2 separate regions of the Homo sapiens genome follow, and region 2 is linked to region 1. Evidence: promoter capture Hi-C in 16 types of primary human blood cells and fetal thymus (Javierre and others, 2016). All regions are on one chromosome and are shown on one strand. The core of a region is centred on a gene start or on the middle of the fragment in contact, and the rest is flanking DNA. Distances in the headings are between cores, read along the strand shown. Region 1 holds the start of METAP1D (methionyl aminopeptidase type 1D, mitochondrial). Region 2 overlaps SLC25A12 (solute carrier family 25 member 12).

Region 1 (6,396 bases), core at 3,237-5,736:
GGAACAGGGCACAAACAGCAAAGATAAATCCACTTGATTTTCCACAACTGTCTCACATATGGCATTACTTTTCCTCGCAAAACATGGAATATTTACACATTTTCTCTAACAGTACCTTTAGATTACTCAGTAACATATTCATGATTGTCTCAAATGATTGGTATAGGAAACATGACATTCTGCCAGCAAGTTAGTTGAGAGTGCCCTAGAAACTGTCTGCCTGAACCTATAATCATTCAAACATAGACGCTAACTTTAGAGGGGCCCAATCAGCTACTAAGACAGATCTTTGTTGTACATGCGGCTTATGTTTATGCAGAACTCCTAGTTCCTGAAAAGAATGTTCATTTGACTTAAAATATGTAAACAAGTAGCATACCAACATATTAAAATTAGAGAAACTAGAGGCCAAGATCGGAGATTCTTCTCCAACCACAGAGTTGCTAAGAAATGATCGTGAAATCAAATCAAAAGGCTAACTTTACGGATTCAGATGGCAAAACAAAGAGGCAGGGTCAGGAAGGGAGAATGAGGCCCCTGGGTCTAGATGACAACTGCGCTGAAGCTGTGTGGTCCCGGGGTACCAGTTTCCCCCAGCAGCCACATTATATCAGTTAATCTTACAACGTATTCACATAAAACAGCTTTTTATTAGAGATATGTAAGCACCTTGGCCCCTATTTCATGGTTTGTGCTCTTTCTTTTCTTTCCTTCCTTCCTTCTTTCTTTCCTTCCTTCTTTCCTTCCCTTCCTTCCTTCTTTCCTTCTTTCCTTCTTTCCTTCCTTCCTTCCTTGCTTCCTTCCTTCCTTCCTCCCTCCCTCCCTCTCTCTCTCTTTCTTTCTTTCTTTTGACAGAGTCTCCCTCTGTCGCTCAGGATGGACTGCAGTGACACCATCCTGGCCCACTGCAACCTCCGCCTCCAGGGTTTAAGCTATTCTCCTTGCCTCAGTCTCCCGAATAGCTAGGATTACAAGTGCCCGCCCCATACCCGGCTAATTTTTGCATCTTTTAGTAGAGATGGGGTTTCGCCATGTTGGCCAGGCTGATCTTGAACTCCTGACCTCAGGTGATCTGCCCGCCTCGGCCTCTCAAAATGCTGGGATTACAGGCATAAGCCACCACACCCAGCCTGTGTTTTCAAATATCTTATAGTAATCCTAATATATATATATATAAATCTAAACTTGTGAGACAAATTACAAGATGATGTTATTTACTATAAGACAAACATTTTTAAAAAATTATTTACTTCATGTCACATAATCCCTTAGAGCATTTAAAAATGCAAATATTCAATTAAAAATTCAATACATACATTACAGAACCTGCATAATTTAACTTTTATTACAAACTACAAATTTAGACACACTCATGGTATAAGTCTATAATATTAAGTTCAAGAAGGAGGAAGGAAAAATGGGTTTTTCAAAAATATGCATATTGGAATTTATTTGATTTATATCTTTTATAAATAAAAAGATTTTAAAAGATGTGAATAAGACATGATCTTTTGAAAATCAAGGTAAAGACCTATAAAATAATAATCACAATCAAAATATTTTAACATTCAAGAATGAATTTTTGGACATAAACTGAAGGTATTAAGTTATCCTTTATTTCTTGAACCCTGGTTTTCAAAAGTTATTCAACTTTTTTTTTTTGAGACAGAGTCTTGCTCTGTTGCCCAGGCTACAGTGCAGTGGCACAATCACAGCTCACTGCAGCCTCAAACTCCGGGGCTCAAGCGCTCCTCCTGCCTCAGCCTCCCAAGTAGCTGGGACTATATGCATGTGCCACCACATCTAGCTAGTTTGTAAATTTTTTGTAGACACGGGGTCTCACTATGTTGCCCAGCTGGGTCTCCAACTCCTGGGCTCAAGCAATCCTCCTGCCTTGGCTTCCCAAAGTGTTGGAATTACAGGTGTGAGCCACTGCACCCGGCCGAATTATTCAATTTTTTATTCAAGAATCCTAAGTACAAAATCTGACTAATGGTAAGAATTCAAATCAGTGAAGTGCCATAATATAATTAACCTTCATTTCACAGATAGGAGCACGGACAGAAATGGAGTAGAGAAGTGACTCAGTAGCGGTTACTCATCTAAATAAAAGCACTCTAATGCTCAAGATCACAGAATGTTAAAATTGCAAGGGATCCTAGATATCAGTGATCTAGCCCTTTATCTTGTTGGTCACTATGTATATATCCCTTTTTTTTTTTTTTTTGAGAGAATCTTCCTCTGTGGCACAGGCTGGAGTGCAGTGGCAGGATCTCGGCTCACTGTAAACTCTGCCTCCCAGGTTCAAGTGATTCTCCCGCCTTAGCCTCTGAGTAGCTGGGATTGCAGGCATGCACCACCATGCCTGGCTAATTTTTGTATTTTTAGTAGAGACAGGTTTCACCATGTTGCCCAAGCTGGTCTCGAATTCCTGACCTCAAGTGATCTGCCTGCGTTCGCCTCCCAAAGTGCTGGGATTACAGGCATGAGCCACCACACCCAGCTTATATCCCATAAGTTGATGGTTTTGGCGGACATGTGCTGGCAGCTTTTAACCCTTCTGCGGTGAGAAGGATGTGTATGAGAGAAGCCAGATCCAGGGTCAGTGGATGAGCTATCACCTGTGCAAGTTCATATTTGCTTCATTTCTAGCTCATCCCAGATATCTACATTCCATGCCGAACTTATTGAGGATTTCCTCACTGGATTCCACTACTGCTGGTGCCACCTGGGTCCTCATAGTGTTTCCTTTTCCTTTTAGTTGTAGGGGAATAAAGCATTCATTTATTTTCCAAGGGTTGGCTGAGTTAAGTCACATGAACATGTGTTCTATTTCAGATGGGTTTGAAACTAGGCTTGATGCCTTAAGGAATAGGGATGTCTAGATTTCTTTTTTCTGTACACTGCTTAAGACTCTGTGGCCAGCTAACTCTCAGGCTCCTTTGCTGCACTCAGATTGCTGGCCTCAGTTACACAGAGGACAGATTTGCCACATTCAAAAATGCTCTCCCTGGAATTGAAATGAGTTTGCAAAAGGTAGGAGTACATTTTATTCTCATTCTTGTGCATCTTATTTACCCTGATGGAAAGCATTACTTCTCTTTATCTTTCAAGGTGACCCAAAAGCATCCAAAACCAGGTTTTCCAGAATTATAGCATGTGTCCTCTAATGAAATGCCAACATTCACTCTCTTTAAAAGTAAAAATATCAAGATTATATAGTCATTAAAAAGAATAAGTCTGAACTAAGTGTTCTAAGATTTGATGCCTATGATGACTGGAATGGAAAAAGCAAGTCATATGATTCTATTTAAAATACTTACATTTGCCTGTGTGTAAAAGGCAAAGATCTCAATTGAGCACACGGTGGTTAACTGGGGAGTGGGACTATGGTATGTACAGAGGGCGAGGAAGGGGCTTGCACTTGTTCCTTATTTCTGAATTGTTCTGAATTGTCTAGATTATTCACTGAGTGTGTAGTGCTTAAAAATTAATTAGAAGACATCACACACATTCACTGAGAATCCTAATCAATCTTCACTGCATTTAAAGTCTGGAAACGGTTACATTCTCAGTTTGACTGGTTTCATGCAGTGTTCAATTGCTTCACCTGACATTCCTCGGGTATCGGGTTCTGTGCCGGGCACGGAGGCTACTAAGATGAATAACACCTGGTCCATGACAGGATGGCATCTACCCCAGAACACAGGTAAGAGAGACAGTGAATTTGGTAAAAATGGGCACCGTCATCAGTAGGCATACATCAGCTCCCTCATCTGATTCACAATTGGCCTTCTGTAGGCTTCTTCTCTTGGCAATGCAATTGGCAGGCGTCATCCTTTTATACTTAAACTCCAAATTTAGGATTAAGACTCCAGTTAATACTGCCAAGCAGAAGGCGTCCTTGGAGAAAGAGAAGTCTCCTGAACATACCCACTGGGGTACCTAGAATAGATTTTGCAGCGACACACAGATCCTGTGTTGTCTGGAGTCTCTGCTGAGTAATGTAGATTCTGGGACAGCAAAAGGGGAGCTGGTGACTTTGAACCAAATTTTACCTTTCAACTGAATCCAGGGGAATAATTTGCAACAGAGTGGCAGACGATACAAAGTGCTATGTTGAACACTAGATTGTGCTTTATTTTTTCCGCCCAACTTCACGTTTCCATGCACCAAAATGTTGATGCTATAAATATTGGATGCCACGCTTACCTGACAGGCTTCTTCCATCCCACCTGGGCGCGGGGGCTCAGAGCGAGCGCGCGAGCCGCGGCTGGAGCCCGCCTCTCGCGGCTGGAGAGGACTCAGCCGGCCGCGGGTTCTGCTGCTTGCCCGGGTGCCCTAGCCGCTTCCCAGCCAGGGCTCCCGCAGTCAGCCCCGCGCGCGCACGCGCGCTCCCCTCGGGCGGCCTCGACGCCTCAGGGCTTCGGCAGGGCTGCGACTGGCCGGCTCCAGCGGGCGGGGCGGCGAGCGAGTGCTCGCGGCCACGTGACCGACGCCAACATGGCGGCGCCCAGTGGCGTCCACCTGCTCGTCCGCAGAGGTAAGCGCGTGGAGGAGAGCCCCGTGAGGGTTCGCACGGTTGCTCACTAGGTACGCACCCGGGTCCAAAGGGATGCGCACCCGCGCTCAGACTTCTCGGCGCACACGACTGTACTTTCAGTGTTTACGAACACACGCAGGCACACACGATGACACATTCACACACCACAGGATCACACATACAAATTTGTTCACTGATCACCCGCCTAGAACACGTCACCACGTGGCATCTTTTCGCAATTACTCCTTGAGATTTGCGGGCCATTGTCTGAAGTTTTTTTCCCCAACTTCGGTTGTATCATTAGTGTAACCAACATTTATTCTGTATGCCGAGCAAGGAAACCTATGGTAATTCTGAAATGCATCTGGACACCCGGTTCCCTTCCCTAGAGCTTTTATGCAGGCATGCTTTTTGGGGACTTGCAAAATGTGATGGTTTTCTTCCAGTGACTTAAAGTTAAGAAGATAAGAAAGGATGTCTGGGTAGTTCTAAGTAGGTTTTATCCTGCGTGAGTGTTGAGATTTTAGTAAATATACAAATGCCTTTGCAGCAGAATTGGGGAAATCTTTGTTGGATTTGAACTAGGTGCTGAATCTTTGTTGGAAAGAACTAGAAAGTTTTTCCAAGGACGGGGGAAGAGGAAAACTATCATATTTTGAGGAGCTACTTAAGCGTCAGGCATGTAGGAACAGTTTTGTGAGGTAAATATTATTTTCATAGTAACAGCTACTGTTTATTAAGTGCCTTTTAAGTACACGATACTGTGTTAAGCGCCTTACATATGCTTGCTTCCTTTTAAAACTCAATGAATGAGACCCCGTCTCTACAAAAAATTTTAAAAATTAGTCGGGCGTGGTGACACATGCCTGTAGTCTCAGCTATTCTGGGGGTTGAGGTGGTAGGATCGCTTGAGCCTGGGAGGTCAAGAGGCTGCAGTGAGCCGTGATCGTACCACTGAACTCCAGACTTGGCAATAGAGCCAGACCCTGTCTCAAAAACAAAAACAAAAACCCAGTGAGTTAGGAATTATTTTCTCTTTGCAGAAGGGAAAAGTAAGGCTAGAGAGGTTAAGTAACATTACTAAGGTCGCATAAATGGTAAGAGGCAGATTGCTCATTTGAACATGACTCTAATTTTTTTTTTTAAGACTCATTTCTCGGTACTGCATGACGTGGTCACTCCATAGAAGTCAGTGTGTAAAGTTCAGCAGAGACAGTGCAGGATGAGTGTGTACAAAAAGTGAAGAGAGCCTGGGCACGGTGGCTCACACCTGTAAACCCAGCACTTTGGGAGGCCGAGGCAGGTGGCTCACTTGAGGTCAGAAGTTCAAGACCAGCCTGGCCAACATGGTGAAACCCCGTCTCTACTAATATACACAATTAGCTGGGCGTGGTGGCGCATGCCTGTAATCCCAGCTACTCGGGAGACTGAGGTAGGAAAATTGCTTTAACCCAGGAGGTGGAGGTTGCAGTGAGCTGAGATCATACCACTACACTCTAGCCTGGGCGACAGAGCGAGACTCCGTCTCAGAAAAAAAAAATAAATAAAAATAATAAAAAATAAGAAGTGAAGAGGAAGATATTTTTAGAGAGGAAGAAGGTTGGTAATCGAATAGACTTCAGTATTTCAGTGTTAGTGGAGATGAGAAAGGGGCCACAGGAAGATTTGAGGGGAGAGATGTGTATGGGGAAGGTGATGTAGCGAGCATTTTGGACTGGTTGCATGAAGGAATGGACATCAGCATGAGAGTGTAGCCTTGTGAAAAGACAGCCAATTTACATCTCTCAAGATCTGGGTGCCAGGCCTGGCAAGGTGGCTAATGCCTGTAATATTACCCAGCACTTTGGGAGGCC
Region 2 (6,162 bases), core at 1,152-3,651, 200 kb before region 1:
TAGGCTCAAGCGATCCACTCGCCTTGGCCTTCCAAAATGCTAAGATTACAGGCGTGAGCCACTGCACCCAGCTGGGACTACATTTTAAAAATACATACACCTTAATTGTTGTATGCTTTGAAGATTAGTTACCTAGCACACATACCAAATCCCAACAACGCACAGGACATAACCACAAAACTCAATTGATGTGCATTTATAAACACATATAATCTAGCAAGTAAGAGTGCAAATAATCAATGACACTATAGCAAGGCACACATCTGTAAGTTTGTTTCATGCCTATGTTTGAAGGAGGAAAACTTCTGACAATTAATGATTTGTATATGTTTTAAAAATTAACATACAAGCCAAGTGCAATGACACATGCCTGTAGTCCCAGCTGCTCACAAGACTGAGGCAGGAGGATTACTTGAGCCCAGGAGTTCAAGGCCAGCCTGGGCAATGGAGCAAGACCCCTATCTCTTAAAATTTTTTTTTTTTTAGTAATTAGTATACATTTTTAAAACCTCATGATAGGCCTAGGAACATAAGGCAAATACTTTCCAGAAACGCTGAATAATTTTAGCAAAGATAAAGACTGCAAAAACCGCAGTTACTTTTGTACCAACGTAATAATTTGTCTAAAACTCTGGATGTTTATAATGCTTAAAGGGAAACACACATGGCAAATATGCACTGTTCTTTTTCGGATTCTGAGGTTGACCACTCTCTCTATCCTACATATTAAACTGGGGATAGGGAAGGGGGAGTAAAATCTGAGATTAGTTCAATTATACTGGTAATAAATCAAGCAACTCAGAATGAGGGACTATGATGTTATCAAACTCTTGAACTGGGTGTTTCCTCTCTGCGAAACAAATACAGAGAAATACCATATTTCTTCTAAGACTCTATTGATTATAAATGATATCATTAATAACAGCTTTCCAAAGGGGAAAAGCACTGCTTGCAGTAAATATAATCTTTAATATAGAGAATTTCATAAATACAGTAACTTTTCAATAAAAAATAGTACCTGTATTTCTACAAATATGCTAATGTTTGCTATTTTTAATAGCAGCAAAATTGAACAGGAAGAAATTCAAATTCCCAATAAAACAGCTAAGTAGATACAATTCTATGCTATTAATTGGGCAATATGATTTGATAATAAAATCACGCCAAATGACAAAAACAGAACATAAAATATTAGGCACACATTTGATCATAAATATGTCAAAATTTACCTAAGTTTCTCAAAACCCAAGTGGCTTAAAGATTAAAACATTGATTGCCTCCTGGAAAGAGAAACTGAATAGCTGGGAGAAATAATTTTCATAGCATACTCTATTGTACCTTTTAAATTTCAAAACATATGAATGTATTAACTACGCAACAACAACAAGAAACAGACCTGGTCTTAGAAACAATGGCTTCTTTATAGACTAAGTCTTCTCTCGCATATTCTTCTTCATGGTAAATTTGGTAATTTGGCAAATATATTTTTTAAACTGGTTGGCGTTAGTTACTGTGGACCCAAGGTTTTTTAAAAAGCTTATTATATATGAACATCAAAAAACCTAATCAAATATAGCTAGTGACCTGAAATAATCGACACTAAGATATATAAAATTTTAAATTAAATCACAATGATACACAGCTATATAAATGTAAATGGACATTGCTAAATTTGGCATCTTGCTGCTTCTGTTACTAATGCTTACATTAGATAACATACCACTCTATATCATACCTTTGCTGAATTTTTTTCACTCATGAAATCACCAAAATTAGCTTCTAATTCTCTAATTGCTTAAATTTCCCGCCTATTTTTTAAAAGAGATACAAACATTAATACTAAAACAGACTTAGATGCTTTCTATTTTTCAGTATTCTGTTGTCATTTCTTTGTTCTAGAACTGAGTTTAAAAGATACATAAAAGAGAACAAATCTCATTTTGAATGAGGGTTACCCATATATAACAGAAATGGAAAGAATAAAAAACTTCCATTTAATCTTATATCATATGAATTTTTTAATGAGAAAATCAACTAAAGCTGACAGCAAAAGTTAGCGGGGAAAAGGATGTAATTTTGAGATGTCACCATGCCTCCACAGTGCCAAAGGCCGAGGGGCTGTATACAGGATTAGGCCTATTCAACCTTCTGCCCTCTCAATCCTACCCCTGGGGCAAGGTTCACAAAGAGGTTGGAGGCTGGGCCCTGCTTGTGCCAAGTCCTTTGTTTATTTCCTTCTTTGATCTGTTGTCTCCTATAGATTGAAATGATTTCCCTCCAACCACAAAATATCCAATCTAAGCAACTCATTATAAAGTCTTCCCTTATCGAGACTGATGAAAATCTAACTTCAATTTATTTAAGGTCACATCAACTCCAGATGAACACAGTATGTGCGTATAAAATAACCAGATAAACAGTAAAAGTCACAGAACTAGCTGTCACTAGGACTGACTCAAGAGGAACAGGAACAGACAGTGACTCAGCCTTGCACACCACCAACCGTTCATATTTTTGTAAAGCAATAGGAAATGCTATGGTTCTTTCTAAAATAGGATAGTGATAGTTTAAAAGAAATAAATGCAATGTGCTCATTGCTGAGTGATGATATATGCGAGGGTGTTACAAATTAACACTACATATACTCCTAACTAGGGTAAGGGAAGTGCTATGATCCGAATATTGGTGTTTCCCCACAATGCATATGTTGGAACTAATATCCAACATTATAGTATTAAGAAGTAGGGCCTTTTGGGAGGTGATTAAGTCATGATGGTTCTGCCCTAGTGAATGGGATTAGTGCCCTTATAAATGAGGTTGAAGGGAGCTGCCTTGTCTCTCCTACCATGCAAGCACACAGCAGCAAGGTACATGCAAGCACACAGCAGCAAGGTACATGCAAGCACACAGCAGCAAGGTGCCATCTTGGAAGCAGAGAGCAAGCCCTCCCTCACCAGACACTGAATCTGCTGGTACCTTGATCTTGAACTTCCAGCCTCCAGAATTGTGAGCAATAAATTTCTGTTGTTTATAAATTACTCCATCGAAGGTATTTTTTAATAGCAGCCAAAATGAACTAAGACAGCAAGAATGAAAATCCCTGTGTACCTATCATAAGCCACTTTTGACATAAATATATAAGGATTTTCAACTTGTATGCATATCTATATGTGTTCACATAAGTATGTAGGCATAAAGTTGGACTACACTAATTCCTGGGGATGAGAGGTGGAAGAGCTGTTTCCAAACTACTCTTTAGAGATATACAAGCTTGGCTTGCTGAGGAAGACATAGAATTCTTCATCATAAGGAGCTGGCTAGTTACAGATCTTGGCCCCCAGGATTAGTAAATGCTCCGCCTAACATGTGGGCTTTTTGCTTTACCGATATGAAGGGAGGGTGTGTGTATGTGGTGTGTGTAGACACATGCTTAAGCTGAGAAAAAGCATGGGAGAGTTGAAAGATTCTAGGTTTGGAAGACTACTGACCTAGATCGTCATAGATTTTGCATTCGGCATAACCATTCCATTCCCACAACCATGCTCTCTGCCTCACCGAGGTCTTGTGCACTACTAACTCATTTGAGAGCACTATGCAGACTGAAAGCAAGACACAAAGGGAAAGAACGTGTTCTCCAGAAAGTGTGTTCGCATAGGGTTGTGAAAATTCACCTGCAACATTAGCACTTTGCTGAGTAATAAGTTTTGAGTTTCATGACTTCCATCCACTCAGGAGTATATACTCTCTGAAAGAGGTAATGCAGTCAGCTAGGTAAGTTTATCACTAATCTCTGATTCGAGTTTAACAATTAAAAAAGAACAGGTACTTACCAAAGAGACCATTAGAAAGTACCTAAAGGTTAGTCCATTTAGATTTTTTAATATTCTGCTTTGTTAATTTGAAAAGATATTTAAATTTATTCTCCCTTAAGTTTCTGGATCTATCCAAAAAACTACATAATTACTTTTTCTTTAAAAACTACTATAAACATCATTAATAAAAGTAATAAACAAGTCACAAACTGGCAAAAAAATATCCACAACACATCTGTTTGACAAAGGGCTGTATCCATGATGTATAAACAACTTTTACAATTAGTAAAAAATATGAAACCTAATAAAATGTACGCAAAAGACTTGAACAGATACTTCACACACACACACACACACACACACATATACGAATAGCCAATAAACACATGAAAAGATAATCAACATCTTTAGGAATCAGAAGAATGCAAATTTAAACCACAATAAGATACTATTTCACATACCTACAATGATTACTATCAAAAACACTACAGATATCAAACATTAGTGAAGATGTGGAACAACTGGAATACTTGTACACTGCTTAGGAGACTATAAAATGATCCATCCACTTCTAAGAACTAACTGGCAGTTTATTTTAAATTGAATATACATCGACTCTATTCTATTCTTAGATACCCAAGAAAAATGAAAATATTGGTTGACAAAAAGATTTGTACAAGAATGTTTACAGCAACCTTATTTGTAACAGACAAAAACCCAAACATCCATCAAGAGAAAAATGGATAAACAAATTGTGGTAAATTCGTACGATGAAATACTACTCAGCAAAATTTAAAACAAACACAAACCTGATACCCACACAAGGATGACTCTCTGAAAACATGTTAAACAAAAGAAGCCAGCCATGAAAGAATGCATCTCGTGCACTCCATTTACATGAAATCCAAGAACAACAAAACTTCAGACAGAAATCAGAAGTGTGGTTGCATGGGGTAAGGGAGAAGGGACTGAATGGAAAGACGCATGAACGACTTTTCTGGGGTGAAATGTTCATTATCTTAGGTGGTGATTACATGGGTGTATACAACTGTCAAAACTCATTGAGCTGAATATCTAAAATCTGTTCCTTTTAAAAATGTTAATTATACCTAAAAAACCAAATATGTAAATATGTCATATTCATACACTTATTAAAGGAAGGAAGGAAAGAGGCAAGAAAGTCACTATAAAGTTGAATAGTGTCATCTAGATTTATTTTGACACAATCAATGATTTGATTCCCCCAAAAGGACATCATAGAATAAAAGGACTTGGTCTAAAAAAATCAGAATACTTGGGTTCACATGAAACCTCCAGCATATATTAGCTGTGTAAATTGGGGTAAGAGAGTTAGCCTTTTTGGACTTCTGTTTCTCATCTACCTATTTTATAGAGGGTGACAATAATGCATAATAATGTACTTTGAAAATTCTAGGTTGACATTAAGGTACTATTTTTGCCCACAATAGATATCATAATCAAACATTCAATTATATTTGTGTCTTCGAATAAACATACATTTGTACATATAAATATTATATATAAACACATATATACAGGTGGTCCCCAACTTAACAATGATACAACTTATGGTTTTTTGACTTTACAATGGTGCAAAAGCAATATGCATTCAGTAGAAACAATACTTCAAGTACTCATACAGCCTGTTTTTCACTTTCAGTACAGTATTCAATAAATTACATGAGATATCCAATACTGTATTATAAAACAGGCTTTGTGTTTTATGATTTTGCCCAATTATAGGCTAACATAAGTGTTCTGAGCATGTTTTAGGTAGGATAGGCTAAGCTATGACATTCAGAAGGTTAGGTGTATTAAGTGCACTGTTGACCTAAAAATTTCCAACTCATGATAGGTTTATTACAATGTAACCTCATTGGAAGTCGAGGAATATCTGGATCTGTGTGTGTGTGTGTGTGTGTGTGTGTGTGTGTGTGTGTGTGTACAGAAAGACAGAAATTTTCTAATAGAAAAATAAACATATGGTCTGATAAGAATGGTTTACCTATGAGAATAACAGGAAAAATTATTTAAAACCTACTGTTACATATTTAATACTCATACAACACTCAACATTCATAAGAGATATTTACTGAGCAACTGTATACACACACATACAATCTTACCCCATCTCCACCTAAAAAAGGGTCAAGCAATTTTAAAAAATTATTATTATTTGTAGAGATGGGGGGTCCCACTATGTTGCACAAGCTGGCCTTGAACTCCTAGGCTCAAGCCATCTTCCCACCTCAGCCTTCCAAAGTGTGGAGGTTACAGTCATGAGCCACCACACCTAGCCAAGGTCAGGCAATTTAACCTAGAGTTCAAT

Evidence for each region. Contacts are between HindIII fragments. The CHiCAGO score rates a contact against its expected background, and 5 or more counts as called.
Region 2: a contact is called between a fragment that was not itself captured here and the fragment with the promoter of METAP1D in region 1, in 2 of 17 cell types (neutrophils and monocytes). The highest score is 5.7, in neutrophils.

Annotation. Positions count from the first base shown.
Region 1 is chr2:171,995,467-172,001,862 of GRCh38, forward strand. It overlaps METAP1D (methionyl aminopeptidase type 1D, mitochondrial), which reads left to right and starts at 4,487. Exons shown (of 10, transcript NM_199227.3): 1 at 4,487-4,543. The coding sequence starts at 4,504. It overlaps LOC124905590 (a long non-coding RNA gene), which reads right to left and starts at 4,443. Exons shown (of 3, transcript XR_007087296.1): 1 at 4,213-4,443. RefSeq lists a silencer at 4,182-4,481. The HindIII fragment of the contact is 8,153 bases long and covers 1-6,396 here.
Region 2 is chr2:171,796,174-171,802,335 of GRCh38, forward strand. The region is part of intron 13 of SLC25A12 (solute carrier family 25 member 12); the gene reads right to left. Among named protein-coding and RNA genes, the nearest start is that of SLC25A12, 95 kb to the right of the region's middle. RefSeq lists an enhancer at 1,986-2,516. The HindIII fragment of the contact is 1,734 bases long and covers 1,535-3,268 here.